Regions from separate parts of the Homo sapiens genome. Here region 2 is linked to region 1. Evidence: promoter capture Hi-C in human tissues and cell types (Jung and others, 2019). All regions are on one chromosome and are shown on one strand. The core of a region is centred on a gene start or on the middle of the fragment in contact, and the rest is flanking DNA. Distances in the headings are between cores, read along the strand shown. Region 1 holds the start of DBX1 (developing brain homeobox 1). Region 2 has its middle 11 kb from the start of MRGPRX2.

Region 1 (7,431 bases), core at 2,125-4,624:
CGCCCGGCATCCGGCCAATCTTTCCAAAATGCGCTCTCACTCTGTTGGCTGCTCCGGCAGGGAGCATGGAGGACTGGGGGTCCGAAGCCTGCAAAGGGTGACCTTAGCGTTGCAGCCTTCCCGAAACGGAGACTTGCCATCTTTTCAGAGGGCGGGGAAGCTCACACCACTCTCTGCTTTATAGTGTCCGTTTCGCCTCGCTTGCTGGCCCTTCGCTTACCCGAGACATTCCAGGCACGGCTCGCACTGGAGAGGGCCGCGCTGCTGCTGCGACCGCACGGCGCCCGGGGCAGGAACATGCTCGCTCTCCCCTGCGCGGGGGGAACGAAACCCCCAGAGTGCGTTCCGACACGCTCTTTCTACTATCCAAGGCAGGTTTCGGCAGCTTTGGCCACCTAGGCCCGGGGAGCCCCAGCCGGATCTGCTGCGGCCTCCCCCGCAGCGTAGGCAAGGACCTTAAACCCCAAACCAGGGACTCCGATTCTCTCTTTTCCCCTCCCGTCTTCTTTTCTCTTGAAAGAGAAATAGACAGAAAGCTCAGCCTTGAGACAAAGAACGCGAGTGATTTCTCCGAAATAAACTTGAAGATAACGACATAACAGTGAATGGCAGGACGCACAAAACCCCATGGGCTCAGGTCAAATGGCATTAGTCACAGGTCTTAGCCGCAGCCGCCGCGCCGCGCAGCTCCTTGGGCTATCGCGGAGTTTGAAAAGACGCGTTCAAGGAGATCACTTAAAGTAAGATCCTTTCGTCCGATTTCTTGCTTCCTTAGGATTTATTTTTCCTTTCACGGGCGGCCAGCCCTCGCCCCCTCGCCCCCGCCCTCACTTTTCCTCTTTGGCGCTTTAGGAATTCTTTAGGAGGCTGTGGAGACCGACCCCAGGAAGCAGGGTCCACGTGGATCGCAGCAAGGGGTTGATCCACCCTCCAAAAAATGGCAGGGTAGACTTTTAAAAGCCGAGAAGTTAGTAGCAGTTAGTCTATAGTGAGGCAGAATGGCTGGGGCTTGGGGTGGGGGCTAGGGGTGGCATGAAGCCTGTCGACGGACAGGAAACGGTGAAAACTACACCCCGGCAAATGCCCCAACAGGGAAGGAGGAGCTGGGAAGGGCTCACGCTGGCTTCAAGTTCTTACCGTTCCCCCCTCCAAAAAAAAACAAAATCCAAGTTGATTTTGGCAAATATAGACTCTATTCTGATCATCCGGAAGACTTGGACAAGCGCTTCACCGGTAGGGAATCAAACATCCTGAAGCCCCCGGCGCGTCCTTCTGGGAACTGGCAATTGCCCAAGTCCTTAAGACTCGGGGAGAAAAAGGGGTGGGGGGCAGAGGGAAAGGGAGTGGGAGAAGGAGGGAGGTGGGCCTGAGGAAAAAAGTAAGGGAGAGGAAGGGAGAGAGCCAGTCTTATTGCAATGGGAAACTGTCTCATGGCAAGGTTAAAGTGCAGGTGTTCAGATAGCTTATGCTTTTCTCACCTATTTTATTGCAAACTTCAAAAAGGAACTTTTGACGTTCTTCGACAGATCTCCTTCTTCCGTTTCCAGGGGACTCCAATTAACTCCAGCAAGGCGCTTCCCATATTTAAATAGCCCCTTATTTAAAAGTTGTTTCTTTCCTGATTGGTTTTCTCCCGCTGCCCATGAGCATGAGCGGTCTTGGGCTCAGAAACTCCGCACTTACGTCATCTTCTAGCATTAATTCGCCTCTGGAGCTGGGCCCTAAATAACTTTTTAATTTGAATCAAGGGAGAGTTTTAGCCGGCTCCGTTTCTGGTTTAATGTGATATAAATCGCAGATGCACTTTTATTGAATGGTTAAAGCAGCGACATGGAGATCATCAACACAAAACACCCCGAACAAAACCATCGAGAGAAATAAAGCTGGTTAATAAGATTTTTGAGAAAGCTTTGTGTTAAAAAGCAAAAAGGAAAACCAGCTGAAGGTGACAGTTAGTTCATGGTTAATAGGATCAGGGCGGCCTGGCGGGGCTGCACACTTCTCTTTGGGGAGGTTCAGCCACACTAAAGAGATGAATGGGACATTTAACACATCTGTTATCTCGCCGAACAGAGAAATGGGGGGAATCGAGTCTTAGTACCACCTCAGCCCCAACCAGAGGAAAGCGAAGGGACTGTCTCCAGGAAGATTCTCCTTTGAAGCCCCACATTCAGGGGAGGCTTTCCCGGAGTGGACCAACATTCTTGGGAACCGCATCCCTTCCCTCTGGTTTTCACGCGTTTGTGCGTTGTAGTTAATTAAGAAGCTGCCAAACCTTGGGCCAAGTTAAGGGCCCCGCAAGTGGTAGGGTTCTCTCCAGACGACGTCTGGACCTTCGCTGCTATGGCTTAAAATGTCAGGGCTGTGAGTTTCAACTTAAACTGCCGAGAGCTCCCTGTGTTTGGAGAACGGCCAGCATAGCACTCACAGCCTTTGGATACCCTTGCCCGAGGCAGTTTCCGGTCAGCCTAAGCTCTTTGCAAGCGGAATCCTGCCGCTCGGCAGCCCAGCGCCGCTCTCCTCCGCTCCTCCCGCAAGGTGAGGTGCGGACAGCCCCTTGCAGAAACTCCTAGAGAAAATCGTTTTCCAAGTTGCTGGGAATTTGAAGGAGACTCGTTTTACTTTTCAGGTATCCACCAACGCTCAAACTCAACCAGTCTCCCGAAATGAAATAACTCCAGACCTCTCCCCACTCTTACGGACACACATCCAGTGGCCCCAAAGCATCCGTTTCCAAGTTTCCCTGAGTCGTCAGAATGGGACTTCTAACACTGATTTCACTCACCCCTACATTTGCTTTATGCTTCAGCTGGAGTAACGGATAGGGCTAGAGACCGGAAAGGGAGTATATTTTCATGTCCACTGACTTGAAACTTTTCATTGCCCTACCCCCACAAGAGGGAGGGCAACTTTGCTGATAGCCTGAAGATGTATTTCTATGAATATTTATTGATTTATTTTCCAGGCTTAGCAGGGGAGCTGCAAATAAATTTAGTGGGTTCTTTAAATAATTCCTTTTCTATGAGGCAAGATGTCATCTGAAACTTCTAAATAGGCATTTAATTAGCCCGGGTGTTGCTTCGGAACAAAAACCTTTGGCGAGAGCTTTGGGGGCGCACTGTATTGCAAAGAGGCGGTCGATATGCAAAATTGATGCGCGCGGGCCTTTGTTGCCGGCCCATTGTGCGGGCCATGCTTATGAAGACTAATCCAATCATAAATTGCACCCCTGCGCCAATCAGAGAGTCCAGAGCCTCCGGCGAATGAAGCTCGAGTGGAGAACTTTGTTGAACTTCATTGTCAGAGCTGTCACTTTTCAAAGTGCTTTAGCGGGCGGGCCACTATAAAACCATCACCTCGACGAGAGGACCACGGAGGACTCGCAGACGCCCAAGTGGGATTGTTACTTGGAGACGTTTGCTAAGCCCAAGAGAGAGGACACTGTGGGGGCGGGAGGGGCGGGAAGCGAGGCGTTTACCCTCCGGCCACTGAAAGAAGGGTTATTTCGCCCGCCCGCGCCTACCATGATGTTCCCCGGCCTCCTCGCGCCCCCCGCCGGGTACCCTAGCCTCCTGCGGCCCACGCCCACCTTGACGCTGCCCCAGTCCTTGCAGTCGGCATTTTCCGGCCACTCCAGCTTCCTGGTGGAGGATCTGATCCGCATCAGCCGACCCCCCGCCTACCTGCCCCGCAGCGTGCCCACCGCCAGCATGTCGCCGCCCAGGCAGGGGGCCCCCACGGCCCTCACCGACACGGGGGCCTCGGACCTGGGCTCCCCGGGTCCCGGCAGCCGACGGGGCGGCTCTCCGCCGACTGCCTTCTCCCCTGCCAGCGAGACGACGTTTCTGAAGTTTGGAGTGAACGCCATCCTCTCCTCGGGGCCCAGAACAGGTAAGCGAGGTCAGAACCCTAAGGGCCCATTCAGGTACTAGGCATGCGCGGAGTCATCCTGGCCTCAGTTTCCTCTAGCGAGCGGGCCCCCACACACACATCGGTGCACACACAATACGCACGAACTCTGAGACCCTACGTCAGGCAATGTGAGAATAGTCCAGTCAATTCCGGGGAAGAAAAGCCTCCAGGCTCGCCCCATCCTCGGAGTGAACTTGAGCACACGCAGTCGGAGACTGTGCGCAGTCATCTGGTGCAGTAACGCTGAGCGCACGCTCCTGGACGTCTGCGTTTCTGCCTTCGAGCTTCTAGGAGACAGTTTTTTTTTTTAAACTCAATATGATATATTTATTGGATTAGCAAATATTATAAATCTGCAATTTCTTTCCTCCCCACTCAGTCCTATCTCGTTAGTGCCTAGGATGGAGATTGGGGTAGAGTGGGACGGCGCAGAGAATTACGTTGGGGAGAAAGAAAAGAGTTTTACAGATAAGACAATGTTGGGAAGATTTATTTTACCCTGTCAACGTATAAGAAAGATGTCTTTGAAACCAGATGAAGGGCTAATTATATCGTGTGTTCAGTGTGCTATACAATAGGCAAGTACGTAATCAGATTCTTTCTGTCTCCCTCTCTCCTTCTGTCCCCCCTCCATCGCCCACCAGAAACATCCCCAGCCTTGCTCCAGAGCGTCCCTCCCAAGACCTTCGCCTTTCCCTACTTCGAAGGGTCTTTTCAGCCTTTCATCAGATCTTCTTATTTCCCAGGTAGGTCTCGTCCCCCTTCTTTGCGCGAGGCAGGGCGGCGCCCCAGCCCCGGCCCATCGCTCCCTGCTCCGAAGCCGTATTTCTCCGTCCACCCCTCGGGGTTATGCTCTGGTTCAGAGGTTGCGAGGCGTATAACATTCATGAATCCGTCGCGCCAATTTGATGCCCTATTGAGCACAAGCAGTGACTGCTTGACACTTTGCACCAATTCCCTGCTCTACAAATTAGCAGGAATTGTCATGGTCCCAATTTGAGGCGGTTCCCTTCCCGGCGAGGAGCTGTTGGCATCCCTTCACGCCGCCGTTTTCCCACAGAGTCAGTGCACTTGGCCACGATTCCCCACAAAGGTTTCAGCACCATGACCAATTGGTCAGCTCCTCCGGGCAGCCACACACAGACCGGCCCTAGTCCCTCCACGCCGCCGAGAGACACCTACCAGCCGGGGCTAATTTCTCTTTAAGACTCATTCAGGGCTTCGGGCTTTTCACAAGACCACATGGGGTGCCCTCTTGTGTGGGATGCCTAGGGTCGCCCAGGGGGAGGGGGATTAGATCCTCCCCCAATCCCAACCTATTTCCAGCCTGATTTCCAAACCCCTTCTCATACTCCTTTCCCACCCTGTATTATAAAATACCGTTGATCTTGCAAAATAAGAAGCAGTTAGAAGAAAGCCCATAATTGTGTCCCAGCCTAAAACAGCAACACCTTAGGCAGCTTCCACCAGGTTTTCTTCCTGTAACCTCACTGATGATTCAAACTATGGCTCAAAAACTCTGCCACTGGTCAAAACTAAAAAGGAGGCAGGAGAGTCCCTATACAGAGAAGAAAAACTGGGTATGGCCTGCGGGGGATGGGTAAAATCACGACAGCACTCCCAAATATCAGCAAAAGAAACAAGCAATTGATTTTTTAAAGGGGAGAGATAATTCGCCCTCCCCCCACCCCCCAGCACCACCACCACCACCACCACCACCACCACCACCACCATTCACACTGCTGCTAATAATGGAATTTGCTCCCTTTCTCCCTCATCTCAATGCTCTAACAAAAACAACCCGAGCTTTATAAATAGCTTTTCATGTCCATTTAATGAAAACGATTCGGGGAAGAGAAGCTTCTGCCATCAGTATTCTCCCAATGGTCTTGGCCTGCAGTTGTGTTTAGTTTGAAAGTGTAAATCTCTTTTGTCCCAGTAATATATGGCTTTCGCTGCTTGTCCTCAGTCTTTTTCTGTTAGTTCATTACTACACAATTACCATTCACGCTTCATTAGAGTCTCTGTTTCTTTTTGTTTTGTTTTTTTCTTTCGCTTAAAGCAAAACTCTCCCCCCTTTTATCATACCAATACCCATTGGGAAGCAGTCAATGTGCTAATTAGCTGCCACTTTTCATGTATTCGGGCCGAATTCTTTACGTTTCGTGGGGGAGGGGAGGAAGGATTAATATAAAAAAGATGAATACTTATTGGATTTTTCAAAAAATCTAAATCGGATTTTTCCCTCTTTATCAAAATAGTAAAGCACCTCATTTTCATCTAAAGAATGCAAAAGCCACTGAAATGATAAAAGCTTAGGGGAGAAACACAGTGGCCTCGGCTGGATATTTTATTTTTATTTTAGTAATTTATTTTTTCTATTGCTGTTTTAGTTGATGTACGCAGGTTTGTTTCCCTAAGTCCACTGAATGGAAAAACGAAACAGGCTATTGTGGGGGCTGTTTTCTCTGTTTCCGTGGTTTTACCTAATCCGGGTTTGCACGGTTGAAAGGGAAAGTTGTTTGGGCGGAAAGCGCCTTTCACTCTCGCAGGTTTGTAGGTTCGTGGCCTATTCTCCAGGGGGAGAAAAAGGAGCGTTTTAAAGAGATGAAGGGATCAGAGCAAAAAGCCAGGGAGAGCCGTGTTGGGACTGGGGGGCGTACGCCCACTCACTCGCCACCTCCCCCCACCCTGCAGCTTCCTCCAGCGTGGTGCCCATCCCCGGGACCTTCTCCTGGCCGCTGGCCGCGCGCGGGAAGCCTCGGCGGGGCATGCTGCGTCGAGCAGTCTTCTCCGACGTGCAGCGGAAGGCGCTGGAGAAGATGTTCCAGAAGCAGAAGTACATCAGCAAGCCCGACCGCAAGAAGCTGGCGGCCAAGCTGGGCCTGAAAGACTCGCAGGTGAGCGCATTTCCTCCACAGCACCCCCCCCGCCCCCGCCCTTCACCCCTCCCCGGCGCACCCGTCAATTGCAAGGGTTCGGAAACGGCTTAGGTCCCACTGTACAGATGGGAAAACCGAGGCCTAGAGAGGGAGTGAGTACACGGGCCACTACCCTCGAAGCTCCGCAGGATAGCCCTCTTCTCTCCCCACCCCGACTCCCCGCCTTCTCTCCCGGCCTCACCGGCCCCCAACCCCGCCCTTCGGGGCAGGGTGGCAGCGGATGAGGCAAACGGAACCGCGAGCTGAGGCGGGGGCGGAGTCAATGCGGGAATCCACCGGAACTCATTTCTGGGGGTGGGGAGAGGACACAGCCCGAAGGACAGAGCCTGCACCCGACTCCACTCCCCGCCCCCGTGCGTCCCCCGGAGCCCCTGATCTGACCTCTGCTTCTCCCTTCTTCTCGCCGGCCGGGACATTCCAGGTGAAAATCTGGTTCCAGAACCGACGCATGAAATGGCGGAACTCCAAGGAGCGCGAACTCCTGTCTAGCGGGGGCTGTCGCGAGCAGACCCTGCCCACCAAGCTCAATCCGCACCCGGACCTCAGCGACGTGGGCCAGAAGGGCCCTGGGAACGAA
Region 2 (7,431 bases), core at 1,675-4,174, 1.1 Mb after region 1:
TTCAGAGCACCTATGTGGGCTCAGGCACATTTGCAAGAATTTCTGGAAGCCCTGTGTGCCCCAAAGAGGGAGCAGAGACCAGTTACTCTCCTGCCATCCTTTTCCTTCTCCAGAACATTGATGTGCCCTTTCAGGTGCCAGGCAGCACAACTCAGTGGGCACAAAAAGAGGGTGAGTCGGCAGAGGCCTGCTGTCCAGGTGTCCTGGGAAAGTCCTTAGCTGTGTTCACATCATTTATGACCCAGTTCGTATATTCTCAACTCACCTTTTTACCTTGGCCATTGATGTGGCAACCAACTATATGCAAATGTAGCCTGACTGCTGTCCAGAATGTCTCTTGATTTCTGTTTGTTTTTTTTGAGACAGAGTTTTGCTCTGTCACCTAGGCTGGAGTGCAATGGTGCGATCTCGGCTCACTGCAGCCTCCACCTGCCAGGTTCAAGCGATTCTCCTGCCTCAGCCTCCTGAGTAGCTGGGATTACAGGCATGTGCCACCATGCCCGGCTAATTTTTGTATTTTTAGTAGAAATGGGGTTTCACCATGTTGGCCAGGCTGGTCTCAAACTCCTGACCTCAGGTGATCCGCCTGCCTCGGCCTTCCAAAGTGCTGGGATTACAGGCATGAACCACCGTGCCCAACCATGTCTCTTCATTTCTAATGGCTACTTATCAGCTGTGTGATCTTGGGCAAGTTGCTTAACCTCTCTAGGTTTCATCATCTGAAAAAGGGGGATGATAATGATACCACTTCATATGATTGTACCAAACAGTAAATGAGTTAATAAATGTAAAGTGCTTACAACAGTGCCTGACACAAAGCAAGTGCTATCAAAAAGATCAACATTGTTATAATAACTATTATTATTGTTGTTACTCTCGCTAGGGCTGAGCACTAGAAGAGGGAGACGGGGCTTCCTGTAGCTCCGAGTCTGCTAAGCAGGAGCCTGATTTGCCATGGACAGGAGTTGACTTCAGTCCTCAGGCTTGTGGGGTGGGGGCAGGGAGGACAGGAGCTACCATTTATTGAAGGCACAGAATCAAAGAATTCTCAAAACACCTTAGGGAGAAGATACTCTTGGTATCAAAGTGGTGCCATTGGTCTGGGGCAATAACCGAGGTTCATTGCCTCATTCCAAGGAAATCGAGGACATGGACACAAACGAGGAGTGAGTTTAAGAGCAGAGGTTTAATAGGTGAAAGAAAGAGAAAAGAGAAAAACTCTCTCCTGCAGAGAGAGGGGCTCCGGACTGGATCTTCCAGTTCCACGGTGAAATGCATGGAGGCGTTTTGTAGATGAGCTTGAGGAGGCAGTGTCTGATTGACATAGGGCATGAGAGATTGGTCAAACCAGGTGTGCTGTTTGCATAGCATGCAAAGAAGCTGGTCATCCCACCCTAATCTTTTATTATGCAGATGGGGTCTCTACCTGGCCGGTGCCATGTTGCCTGCTTTTTACTGCACATGTGGTGACAAAGGAAAGGGAAGAGGGAACCTCCGTGTTGAATATACCTGGCTTCCAGATATCGCTTTTCTATTGCCACAGCTGCCAGTATTTACCTATGTGAGCTTTTAGCTTGCTTATCTATGCTTGCAGCTTGATTTTTCAGGTTGCTTTTTCTTAGAAAAGAAACAAGTTAGGGGCTGCTTTTTATTAAAAGGAAACCTTACTGAGGACTCTCTTACCCTCACTATCTGCCTAAATAATTTCTTTCTAGTTCCTGTATCACTATCACCTTTTTAGAGATGAGGAAACCAAGGCTTCAGGGGGTTACAGGAGTCATCTGAGGTCATGTAGCCTGGAGTGTCTGAACCAGGGTTGCCCCTAGGCCCAGTGAGTGTGGCCCTGGTCCCTGTCGCCACCCTGCAAAAGGAAGGAAAGGGTAGTGCATATCCCTGTGGTTCCCAGAATGTCCTAGGGGAAGAAGGAAACTGCAAAGATGTACCTCTCAGCCCTTTGTGCCTGCTGGAAAATGCTGCAGGCAATATCCTATCAGGGTCCTGAGGGGAAGGTGGTGCTCTGGGCACTGCTTCCCTGACCTATATCCAGGAGGCTGGGCTCTGGGTGAGGTAGGTGGGGATGGGAATCTGTTGGGAAGAGCACTGGGCCAGGAGTCAGGAGCTGAATTTCAGACCTCACCCAGTGTGCCAGTTCCAGCACCTAAAACAAGGCCTATCAAGTAGCAAGGAGTGCACAATCAATATTCATTGAAGAAATGGATGAGTGAATCCATGAATGAATAACATAGGCCCTGCTCTCAGGGAGCTTTCAGCCTAGAGGAGCAGAGGAGACAGGTGCAGCAGCTACAGAGTTCAGATGAGGGGAGTGCCCTAGGACCTGGGTTATACCCCAAAACGGGAGCCTTCTGGGGCCTAACAGGTAAAGGGGACTACAGAAGGCAAAGAGGAGAGAGGAGTGCAGAGCACAGAGGCCTGCGGAGCATGGGCTTGGAGGCTGAGTAGGTTAGCACTTGAGAGGGATGTGAGAAACGGCTCACACTGTTCGGATCCTTATATTCTGGAACACATCCTGCCCCGACAAGTCCTTCCCTTCACTCTCTCAAAGCATAACTCCAAACTGTGCAGTTATCTGTGGATTGGGGTAAGCTTGGCTCCCCCACACTGATTTTCTAAATTTGGGCTGGACACAGGAGCTGGTTTGACACAGAGGCCCCACAGGTCTCCTCCATCCAACAAGCAAAGCCTGGGACCAGCCCAACCTTCAGGGAGTCGCCCTCAGCCTCCTGAGCTATAGGCCTTCACTGCACCCAAGTCTTCACTGACGCAGACCTCCACACTATGCCCTCCTCCCTGGCTGCCCAACCCTCCACCGTGGGGTCAGACACACCCTGCCCACCCCTGGCAGCTGGTCCCTACAGCCTCTCCCTGGCCCGCCCTGGCCAAACACTGGCAGAGGGAAGCCTGGGAAAACCAGACAGGCAGGACTTGCCAGATGGCAGCCAGGCCTGAAGGAACCTGGGGAGAAGAGGGTGACGTGAAGGTCACTGGGGCTCCCTGAAAGTCAGAAAGACATGGAGATCAGTTGTTGTTACTGAGACGTAATGGGCAGTAAGACTTACTCTTTTGTTTCCCAACAAATGACAGAATTATACCAGAAGTAATAACCCTTTCCATCTCTATAGGGCTATCGAGTCTCCAGCCCATGTTCACATGAGGTATCCGCTCTAACAGAGGAGCAGGAACAGAAGGGAACCTGGGGCGTACCTCCCTCCATCGCATAGCAGCAGGTGCAGGCACCGTGTCTTTGCCCAGTGCTTCCATCTGCTGTCCTCAGGCTATTGCCCTGCCCCAAAGCCTAACGTGGCAGACACGTGCTGAGCAGTTTCAGCTGGCCTTGGGGATTGGGATTTTAGGAGCAAGCTTCAGAAACCCTGTGGAAGACTGGGAAAGTCGGTGAAATAATAAAGATGGTCCTGACGATGACAGAGGGCACATTCTGATGTCACACGGCTTTAAGCATGTGCTAAGCACTCACATGTGCACCTTGAATACCTCACAACAGCCATCTTACTGATGGGGAAGCCAAGGACTGACTAGTAAGGTTAAGCAACATGACAGTAAGATTAAATTAGTAGTCCTAACCTGGATTCACAGACTTAGTAGATCGGGATTTGAGACCAGCATTTCAGTGGTTGATTAATAGACACTCGCAGGAGCTGCTGTACATGCTGCCATCCATGAATGCTCAGGTTGCAAAAATTACATGGGTCCCCTTCATTGCTCTACTTTAAATTGGGATGGATAATCTTGGCTACTCGGGAGGCTGGGGTGGGAGGACGGCTTGAGCCCGGGAGTTTGGAGATGCGAGCTATGATCCTGCCACTCCACTTCAGCCTGGGTGCAGGGGGAAACTTTGTCAAAAAAAAAAAAAAAAAAAAAAATAGAAAGGAAAAGAAAAGAAAATTGGCGTGGGTAAGTAGACAGTGAGTAGAGACCGGTTCCCAAACTTCACAGGGCATTCGTCTCACTTGGATTCATCTTCCTGTTCCCTCCCTCTGTCCTCACCCTCCCTCCCTATTCCCTCTTGCGCGCAGGCACACACACCACGCACAAACACACATCGGCTTGAGATCCCAAACTTTTTCCAGCAATGTCATTGACATGGGCCCCCTGCTGGCCAGTCAAGGGTTACCGCATACTAACAAAGCAATGATCCTTGACTACCACCTAGTGACGTAATGTGGTAACATTACATTTCTTTTCTATCCCTTCACAATCTGATGTGGTATTAAATATTTCGGCAACCGGAAGCCAAAATGTTAAGAGCTTGCTCTTTGTGCTCCCTGCTTCAGAATCCCTTAAAAAATTCCTCATTAAAGTATATAACAGTAAAATTTTGATGAAGTTGAAACTCTAAATTTAACTCAAAACTTGGCAGTGAAATTTGAATTAGAATAACAGGGGTACTATTTATCAAGCATCTATCAGCTAGGCATTGTACCAGTTGCTTTATATTGCTTAATTTACAATTTAATTTGATACTTCTATGAGGCATATCTTATATGTATTTAACAGATTTCAAAATTGGGGCTCTGAGAGAGAAAATAGCTTATTCAATATCAAACAGTTATTATGCAGAAGACTCAGGACTAACCAATACCGTCATTTATGAAGCATGCAAAAGTTAACCAAATGACTCTCAAAACACCCTTGGAGAACTACAGGATTAGTCCTATTTTAGGAATGAGGAATAGAGATCCAGGAAAGTTAAGGAGCTTCTTAAAGTTCACACAATGAGTATTGCAAAAAGTTAAGTGTCAGACTTCACTCCTCAGGAAGTGGAGTCTTTGCTGTGCTGCTCCTTGCCCCCCAGGGCCAAGACAACAGTTGTGCTCTGACATTTTAGGGTCCTCGCTGCCATTGTACCTGGCCTCACAGAGTCTAAAATATACCCCACCATCTCCAAGGTCTAGAGTCACCACATGGTTCCTCATCCCTGACACCTGAGTTGCCACCAAGCCCTATTGGCTCAGGGTCCTGAATTGCAGCCATATTCTGCTCCCCAGGCCCAAACCTCCAGAGCACTCCTTCTTCTCCTGAGTCAGACCAGTTCTTTGCCCTGGCCCCTAGAAGTAGAATTGCAGCTACAACCCAGCCCCTGAGCCCAAACTGCTAAAGGTGCCTCAGAGTCCCAGATCACGGCTCTCTGGACAACCTACATCCAATAAACACAGAGAGCAAACCTGCACCACAAGATCCAGGTGCCACAATAGGTTTGTGATACACTGAGCCTAGGACCCCAACCCCACAAATGCTCTAAGCACCTTCACCTGGAACCTAGTACCACTGCAGCTGCATGTAGGCCATGTCCGACCTGATACCGAGAAGGATTTTCTCAGCTAAGTCTCCACACTGTGGGGGAAATAAGAATAAGAGGACCCCAAAAGCCCTCGCTCATGAAGACTTTAACAACCTCCACCACTACTGCCACCGCCACAAACTTCTACAACCTAAGTCATTGAGGCACCCACAGTTATTCAGTGAGCCAACAAATGAGGAAGCTGCATAGAGATTATATCACTCAACTTACCCAAAAACAGAGTTGTCCTCACCAACCAGCACACCAAGACCAAACTGCAGGTGAAAGTCTTTCTCTGCAAAGATGATTCTAGAAAGTTTGGAAGAGGTAAATGTTCCATCAGATGCACAGATACAAGAAACATCATGCAGAGACAGAAGAAACATAAACAAGCAAGGAAATACGACACCACTAAAGGAATACAATAACCCTCTAGTAACAGACTCTGCTAAAAATGAAATTTAAAAATTTCTGGAAAAGGAGTTCAAAATAATGATTTTAAGGAAACTCAATGAGATACAAAAAATACAGATAGACAATTTAACAAAATCAGGAAAACAATTCATGATATGAATGAGAAATTTAACAGAAGGTGGATTTTTTAAAAAAATAAACAAACCCTGAAGCTGAAGAATTCAATGAATAAAATAAATAATACAATAGAGAGATTCAACAATAGACTTGATCAAGCAGAAGAAAGAACTCTAAATTCAAAGACAGATCATTTGAAATTATCCAGTCTGAGAAAAAAAAAAGAATGAAAAATAGTGAAGAAAGCCTATAAGACTTATGGGACACCATTAAGTGAACAAATATTCATAGTGTGGCGCTGGAAACACTGGATATCCACATGCAGTAGAATTAAACTAGATCCCTATCTCTTATATACAAAAGTCAACTCTGAATGAATTAATGACTGAAATATAAGACCTTAAACTATGAAACTATTGGAAGAAAACAAAAACATTGTATCAGAACATTGGTGTGGGCAAAGACTTTGTGAAGAGGACCTCAAAAGCACATGGATCAAAAGCAAAACTAGACAAATAGGATTGTATCAAACTAAAAAATTCCTGCACAGTGAAAGAAACAATCATCAGAGTGAAGAGACAACTAGCAGAATGAGAGAAAACATTTGCAAACTATTTATTCAACAAGGGATTACTATCTGGAATATACAAGGAACTCAAACAACTCAAAAGCAAAAACCAACCAAACAAACAAAAAAACCCACCAACAATCCAATTTAAAAATGAGCAAATGAGCTAAATAAACGTCTCTTAAAATAATACATAGGAATAGACAACAGGTATATGAAAAAAATGCTCAAAATCACTAATCATCAGAGAAATGCAAATCAAAACTACAATGAGATATCATATTAATACAGTTAGAATGATTGTTATCAAGAAGACAAAAAGTAAATAAATGCTGGTGGGGATGCAGAGAAAGGGAACTCCTATACACAGTTGGTGGGAATGCAAATTAGTGCAGCCATTATGGAAAACAGTACGGTGCTTCCTCAGAAAGCTACAAATCGAACTACCACATGATCCAGCAATCCCACTACTGGATATATATCTGAAGGGAAGGAAATCAATATGTTGACGAGATGTCTGCACTCTCATGCTTATTGCAGCACTATTCACAATAGTCAAGATATGGACTCAACCTGTGTCCATCAACAGATGAATGGATAAAGACAATGTGGTACATATACACAAGGGAGTACTATTCAGCCACAAAAAAGAAAGAATCTTGTCATTTGCAGCAACGTGAATGAGTCTGGAGGACATTATTTTAAGTGGAATAATTCAGGCACAAAAGGACAGATACCACATGTTCTCACACATGTGAAAGCTGAAAAAGTTGATGTCATAGAAATAGAGAGTAGAATAGAGGTTACTAGAAGCTGGGAAGGATGGACAGATGGATAGCCTAATTTTGGCTAACAGATACAAAATTACAGCTAGATAGGAGAAATAAGTTGTAGAGTCCTAGGGCAATGTAGGGTGATTATAATTAATGACAATTTACTGTATATTTTTAAATAGCTAGAAGAGTATATTTTGAATATTCCCAACACAAAGAAATGATAAATGTTTGTGGTGATG

What was found. The method cuts DNA at HindIII sites, captures the fragments that hold promoters and counts their contacts. A contact is called where the count stands out against the background at its distance.
Region 2: a contact is called between a fragment that was not itself captured here and the fragment with the promoter of DBX1 in region 1, in 1 of the 25 tissues and cell types used here (lymphoblastoid cells).

Annotation. Positions count from the first base shown.
Region 1 is chr11:20,156,418-20,163,848 of GRCh38, reverse strand. It overlaps DBX1 (developing brain homeobox 1), which reads left to right and starts at 3,374. Exons shown (of 4, transcript NM_001029865.4): 1 at 3,374-3,891; 2 at 4,557-4,658; 3 at 6,610-6,812; 4 at 7,276-7,431. The coding sequence starts at 3,525. RefSeq lists enhancers at 367-868, 1,993-2,492, 2,493-2,994, 6,380-7,431. The HindIII fragment of the contact is 9,910 bases long and covers 1-5,999 here.
Region 2 is chr11:19,068,089-19,075,519 of GRCh38, reverse strand. No RefSeq gene overlaps it. Among named protein-coding and RNA genes, the nearest start is that of MRGPRX2, 11 kb to the right of the region's middle. The HindIII fragment of the contact is 5,566 bases long and covers 142-5,707 here.